Regions from separate parts of the Homo sapiens genome. Here region 2 is linked to region 1. The links are contacts of gene promoters, found by promoter capture Hi-C in blood cells and fetal thymus (Javierre and others, 2016). All regions are on one chromosome and are shown on one strand. The core of a region is centred on a gene start or on the middle of the fragment in contact, and the rest is flanking DNA. Distances in the headings are between cores, read along the strand shown.

Region 1 (3,925 bases), core at 1,296-3,795:
GGTCGGACTGCGGACTGCAGTGGCGCAATCTCTGGTGATTTCTTCAGTATCCAGATGTATATATCAGATTTTTAACAAGAAAGATAAAATAGAAAAAAATGAAAGGTTAGGAAAGCATTAATTGGAATGTACTAAGGACGAGGAAAGAATTAGCAATGATTTTTGAGGTTGGAAAACTAGAAAAATTGTACAACATTGGCAGAAAGAGAGAAAGTCCAAAGGTAGGATGGAGGGTGGAGATAGAGTAATTTTTATGGCAAAGATGACATTGGATTAACTCATTTAGGCCTTCCTTTAAAATTTAGCTATAATTATGATTTATCAACACATATCTCCTCTTTCCTTGGAACTTTGGGAGAAACTTCCTTATGTATCATTGAATTTTTATCCTTTCCCAGAAAACAGACATGTCTAAGTTACCACATTGAAAATGTGGCAATGAATTATTTAATGGTTGCAGCATTGTTACTTCAAAATGGAAGGCATGTATACATTTCAATTCAAAGTAATAAAATTTCACACTGCATCTAGATTCAAATTATCTATAATCTATCACTCTATAGAGGGACATGTATTTAAATGTTAGTAGTAAACAGAATTGAGTAAATTTTTTCATCTCTCAAAATGTATATTAAATTTCAACTTGATATGATCAATGGAACACCAGGAATTCATGAAGTTTCAAAGTGGTCCAAGCACAAATAAACAATTTTCTTTTAGTTTTAGGAAGACAAATAGTTGAGAAGAACTTCTTATACCTGCATAGTAACCCAGACACTAAACTCTAAAGTTGCCCAACTCTTTAGAGCAAATCAATCATATATTACCACGAAAAATGTGAGTTTGGATGCAAGGAGTAAAATGGACTAAATAAAAACGTATTTGAAGCTCCTCCTCCTCTTTAATACCTATGTAACTTCTTAAAAAAAAACAACCCAACCTTATAATAGTATTGGCCAGTCATTTGAATTTTTGAAGAAAAAATTGATACAGTTATGCATGAAAACACAGCATCTATCCCTCACTCTTTCAACTTCTGAAAATAGCTAGAGAGTGGCAAGTCCAACCATCATCCTTTCCCCAAAACTCCATAATTAATGGTAATATTTTCTAGAACTCCTTTGAATTTCACTAGAGGTTATATATTGTAGCTTTTTTCCCACTCTAACATTTATAGACAATACTGACAAATGTTTGAAATAATAGATTGGAATTAACCCTCATATTAATTTTAGCTTCTACCAAAGTGTGCATAGAGCAAAGAATCAAAGGACAACATGTTAACTAATAAAGCAAATAATTGGTACCTATGACTTAGCAAGTTACCTTTATTAGCACTGGGTGTTGGATCTTGAAACTGATAGTTTAAAAAGTGTGATTCTTTTGAAATGGGACCAAAGGAGCCTAGGATAAGCCCAGCACCATAGGGCTCCCAATTGAGGGGTGTGGACTGGATGGCTGAAGAGGTAATATCAATACAGTGTGCCATGTGCTGTCAGTACCTAGATGATGGATAACACGATACCAGAAATGGTGGCCACAGTCAGGAGACTCGGCCTTCCCCCAGGTGAAACAAAGAAAAGGATAACAGCTGCTCTCTTACATTCAGAAGTGTGTGAGATACCAACATCCACGAGAATATTCCAGTTCTCCTTCTGAAGCAGAATACTACCTATTCTACCACCCACATCCTGACAAGGCCTTTGGAAATCAACTCAAAAATTTTTAGCATTATTTTTTGGGGGAAGGGTGATTAAAAAAAATCTCAGGGATAATCCGATTCAAAACTCTTGATTTTTAAATTAGGAAAATGCATCTTTTGATACATTTCAAGGAGTTCAAAAGTCCCTCCAAGACCATCCATGGACCCAACACCAATGACTCTGGGTTTTAAATCCTTTTAGTTTGGATTTCCTTAATTGCATTCATAAGCCCATATTAAAATTAAAATATAAAAAATTAAAATCTTTGCCCCATATTAAAATCACCCTGAAAACTTAAAAAACAAACAAACAACAACAACAACAAACCTCAATGCCCAGACCAGATCCTGTCCTGTTCCAATTAAATCAGAGTCTCTAGAGGTGGGACCCAAGAATCAATATATATGTTTTGAACTCTCCAGGTGATTCCACAGGGCAGCAAAGTTTGAGAAGCAACACACAGGTCTCCTTTTTCGTCACGCAGTTGATCTAAGTGCTCTGTGGTCTATTCACCATCGCTCTCTGATTTAATCATCGTGTCCGAAACAATGGAAAGGCGTATGTAGCTGAAATAATTTAGTTGGAATTATCTCGGAAAAAATAAGTAAAGTTAGATCAGGAGTGAGATGCTTTCTCAGCGCTTTCCCTGGGTCAACAGGCGCGTGCAATTTCCTCAGCGAACGCCAAGGGGCACCCTCTCCCTCCCCGCTCTACCTGGAACGCCTTCGCCTTTCCAACCGCACAAAGAGCCCGGCCTCCTCCCGGGTGACATCACAAAGGGCCGGTCCCCCGCCCCTTCGGCGCCACCACGTGTGTCCCTGCGCCCGGTGGCCACCGACTCAGTCCCTCGCCGACCAGTCTGGGCAGCGGAGGAGGGTGGTTGGCAGTGGCTGGAAGCTTCGCTATGGGAAGTCGTTCCTTTGCTCTCTCGCGCCCAGTCCTCCTCCCTGGTTCTCCTCAGCCGCTGTCGGAGGAGAGCACCCGGAGACGCGGGCTGCAGTCGCGGCGGCTTCTCCCCGCCTGGGCGGCCGCGCCGCTGGGCAGGTGCTGAGCGCCCCTAGAGCCTCCCTTGCCGCCTCCCTCCTCTGCCCGGCCGCAGCAGTGCACATGGGGTGTTGGAGGTAGATGGGCTCCCGGCCCGGGAGGCGGCGGTGGATGCGGCGCTGGGCAGAAGCAGCCGCCGATTCCAGCTGCCCCGCGCGCCCCGGGCGCCCCTGCGAGTCCCCGGTTCAGCCATGGGGACCTCTCCGAGCAGCAGCACCGCCCTCGCCTCCTGCAGCCGCATCGCCCGCCGAGCCACAGCCACGATGATCGCGGGCTCCCTTCTCCTGGTGAGCGCTTGCGTGGACCGGGGGTGGCGGCGGCGCCGGAGCAGAAGGAACCGCTCTCCGGGAGCCGGGCGGGTCACCGGGCCGGGGCTTAGGGAGGCGCGGGGCCCGGCCGACTGGGTTACGGGCACTGAGGGGTTTCCAAGGGAAGGCAACACACCAGAGGGCCTCGACTAGGTTATTTGGGGGAATCTCAGGGCTCAGCCGGGGCTGGGGAATGAAGACGAATTGTTTTCCTTGCAGTCTGGCTTTGCTGGAGGAGACGCTAGAGGTAGCCGCCCAGCTTCTGCGCATTTGAGGGCTTTTCCCCCTACTCGGCCTACCTCGCGCTCCCCACGCCCGCAGCCACAGCCCCCCACCCATCGGCCACTGCCCCTCTGCGTGGTGTGGGGCCTCGCCGCGGTGTGGGGCTCCCACGGCCGGCCGAGGCCGGCGCTTTGTTGCAGCTGCAATGTCATGTCGGGATGCTACCGCAGTGGAAGACAGTGGTACCGGTGCGCGCCGGACACCGGAGACCTCCGGGTGCTGTCGCGCGGTGCATTCCCGAGCAGGGCGCAAGCCGCCCCCTCCTCAATCCCTTTACCCTCTCTCTTCCCTCTTGGCTCGGGTGGGGTCTCAGGTTCTGTATGCCGAAATATCACCCTTAGACCCACTCTCCGGCGCCTCCAAAGCGCCGGCTTCCAGCCAGCCAGCGCGCCGGCACTGGAATGGGGGGAGGGGGAAGGAGATGTGTGTGAAGGAAGATGAATTTTCTACAGTCTTTCCGATCCCTCGTTTACCTGTGGCTAGGCAGGTGACCCTGCAGGGTGGTGCAGTCTCCCTCATCGTCTAAGCTGCATCCACATCTCGGGTCAATCATCTTGACCAAAAACTTACCCTCAACTTCCCCCAAAT
Region 2 (3,526 bases), core at 295-2,794, 190 kb after region 1:
AGAACATGAAAGCACAGAGAGGATAAGAAAAATTCTCCAGGTCACACGGCATTTGGATTCAGGCAGTTGAGACCAGAGTCTCTGTTCCTGTCCACAATGTTATATGGCCCATGACAAACCACCCACCCTTCACATCTTGGATTATGGCCCATGATAAACCACCAACCCTGCACATCCTCAGGAATTCATAGGAAGGAGTCAAATTCAGTACCTTGAGCTTTGACAGGTAACATTAAGAACAGGTCTCCACCCCCTACCCCCACCACCCCCCATTAGTTTTGGTTTCAGGGAGAATTAAGGGAAGAGATTTGTGGACTCGGATAAGCCCTTACAATCCTCCTGTTCAGTTGTGTGTATGAGGTAACCAACTCATCACAGTGTGACTGGAGCTTTCTCAGTTTTGGTATTAAAAGTTCATTGTGCTGGGCAACATCTCAGTTCCTGGCAACCTCTTAGTCCTGGACAAACTGGGAAGGTTGCTCACTCTAGTGTGAGGCTTCTTTGAATGAGTCGGAAGTATTCTTGCCACACCCAGGCCAGCCAGGTGGACCCGAGGAGGGACGAGAAACGTCATTACCCTGCAATAGTTTCCCTACCCAGCCCTATGCCCCACTTTCTGTGCGTGTGTCCAACTTTCTCCCTGCTCTTCTTAGAGCAGGTGGTCTCTGATCCCCTGGAAGGGAAAAGACCTTCCCATAAACTCACTGGTCAAAGAGGCTCAGGTTATAGCTGGGGTGAGATACATATCCATCTCAGCAAGTCAAATCTCATTATTTTCTTTGGTGGAGATGAGAGAAGGTGAGGATACGGGTTAGGCTGGAGATTATTTAACTGATAAACTGTGATTATTCTTCAGGAATCCATAGCCAGGGATAGACTCAATTTAATTTATTAAAAATATTTGTTAGATGAATATCAACATATTTGCACGTTTCCCCTCTGCCCCTTTTATAATCATGCCAAAATGAGTCACTCAATTACCCCAATTCCTTAGCTTATACTCAATGGGAAACATGATTTTAAAAGGTTAATGCTATTTTAGATGGCTCCCTTTTATTGCTCTATTTATGTTAAGCCCCAGAGTGATTTAGGTGCCTATGCAATCATAAAAAATCCAGGAATATCATTAAGTAATTGTGATGTCAACATACTGCTGAGGTTTGAGTAGCTACATCCTAGCCTATGGTATACATCCATTTTATGGATTCTCAACTCTCCCTTTGGCCTTCATCTTTGATCTAGTGCTAGAAAATTATTATGTCATTAACCCAAATGTGAGCCTCAAGTAAAATACTTCATTATTCTTTAATTCAATTTAAAAACATAGACACATTTTTCTTAATGAAGTAATTACTTCTACGTTTCGTCAAACCATTGAAGTTTATCAAAAACGCATTGTGAAAAAAGTTATTAAGTTTTTCAATGACTTATATAATGGAATGGCATATTTTCTAAGTTAATGAAGTGAACACTAACAATATGATCCTGAAGAAGAACCCAGTTGAGAAGGAGGAAAATAATAGCGTATGCCACAGTGGTCTTGGCTTGTTTCTCTCCCCACAGCTGAATATTTTTATTGAACATTTGAGAGAAGTCGTAACTGGCCTGATTACCAATTTGGGAATGACATATAGCTGGGAAGGATGGTTAATGAGAAGTCAGTATCCAGATTCAAAATGGTCTTAATAAGCTCATTGGCAGGCAGCTAAAATCTACATAATATAATTTAACAAGGGTTAATTTTTGCCTTTAGTCAGACAAAAAACAAAACAAAATAATTGCATAAGTATAAACTAGTAATTTATTTGAAAAAGACAAACTGGAATTAATTGACTGCAAAGGCAATACAAGCCAATTGTGACTGCCTCATTGCAGCAAATAATCCAATGTGGCATTAAGTTGCATTGAGGGGAAAAATGTGGCCAGCACAAGGGAGATGATAGATCTGTTGAATTTTTACCAGATCAGATGGCATTTAGAGATTTTTCTGCTAGTCTAGATGCTATATTTTTAGAAGAATATTGATGAACTAAAACATATCCAGAAGAGAGTGAGTGTTGAGGGTTTTGGAAACCATCACTTGATGGAACTGAGACTATTCTACTAAAAAATAGAAGGTTTTGGGGGGACTTGAGAACTGTTCTCAAATACTGAAATGTGTTCAGAACTCAGAGTTGACTTAGGGAGAGGAAGCCTTGTTAGTTCCCCTACAATCACCCCTACAATTTCCCTTTTCCTTGAAGACTATGCCAGAAATGGAAGAATTATTAAATCTATATATAAGTATCAAATAATTTTTCATATTATCTTGCAGGATCTCCTTCCTATGCTTCCAGTTACCTCCTGTGACAAATAATAGTTTCTGCAGCACAGCAATCTTCCCTGCCTCAAGTCTTTAGAAACAATCTCATTTATCTAATGAGATTCATATTTTCTGAATCCAGAATGAAGGTGTAAAGCCCTCTAAAATGATTTTACTCAGTCAGGAGGATCACCTGAGCCCCAGTTTGAGACAAGCCAGGGCAACATAGTGAGACCCCATCTGTACAATAAAATAAAAACTAGCCAGGCGTGGTGGTGCATGCCTATAGTCTCAGCTACCTGGGAGTGTGGGAAAAGGGGCTGAGGTGTGAGGATCGCTTGAGCTAGGAGGTTAAGGCTGCAGTGAGCCGTGATCACACATGATCACTGTACTCCAGCCTGGGAGACAAGGCAAGACCTTCTCTCTAAATAAGTAAATACATGATTCCACTCCCATTGATGAACTAAAATGTGCGCACAAATCTGTTCTCTTGCTATCTTAACTTTTATAATGTTTTTCTGCTTCTTGACTTGCTTATTCTATCAGAGACCACGCCTCAATCATCCTGGCTCAAAACCACATTTACCTTTAACACTTCCTCCCCATCATCCCTTATATCTCAGGAAGTTCCAGGACCTGAAATGTAACCAGATTTTGTACATTGCACAAAGGACTGAACCAACCCAGGAGTATTCACTGGAAACCTGTGGTTTCTGTAATACATGGCTGTGGTGTACATGTTACAAAGCCTCCTGTTAAGTGCAAATCAGAAACTCTGCACATGGGAAGAAAGGGAAAATTTAGGGAACAACTCCTTCCTTCTTACTCTACATCAGAATGTGCAACCCTGACATCTATAAAAGTTTCAACCTGGAAAGAGATTAAAAGATATTTAAGGGAAGTCAAATTTACAAAGATGTGAGTGTATCTCACGAGTTGGGTGTAGTTGCTGAGAGGCAGGAGGATGACCCAGTTGAACCCTAGAGTCTTCCTCTGTCTGAGAGAGGTTACTATGAGCCTTGTAAAGCCGTGGTGTAGAAAACAGCTGCAGATTTGACAGGAAATTGCAGGAGATGGGAATGAAGCATGAGGCAAAATGTCTTGTTTTGCTCTTCTCAGCCTCCTGGGTCTCCAGGGCTCTGGGCCCAAATTTGGAGACTGAGAAATGCAGGGGAATGTTATGCTGTGTCTGCAGCTCCATTTCTTGAGATTGAGGTTTAGATA

What was found. The method cuts DNA at HindIII sites, captures the fragments that hold promoters and counts their contacts. A CHiCAGO score of 5 or more calls a contact.
Region 2: a fragment that was not itself captured here is called in contact with the fragment with the promoter of TNFRSF21 in region 1 in 2 of 17 cell types (monocytes and megakaryocytes); the score reaches 8.2 in monocytes.

Annotation. Positions count from the first base shown.
Region 1 is chr6:47,308,525-47,312,449 of GRCh38, reverse strand. TNFRSF21 (TNF receptor superfamily member 21) reads left to right here and starts at 2,545. Exons shown (of 6, transcript NM_014452.5): 1 at 2,545-3,034. The coding sequence starts at 2,939. RefSeq lists enhancers at 2,283-2,577, 2,529-2,708, 2,872-3,594 and a silencer at 2,849-3,078. The HindIII fragment of the contact is 9,028 bases long and covers 1-2,602 here.
Region 2 is chr6:47,113,755-47,117,280 of GRCh38, reverse strand. No RefSeq gene overlaps it. Among named protein-coding and RNA genes, the nearest start is that of ADGRF1, 73 kb to the right of the region's middle. The HindIII fragment of the contact is 6,107 bases long and covers 1-3,526 here.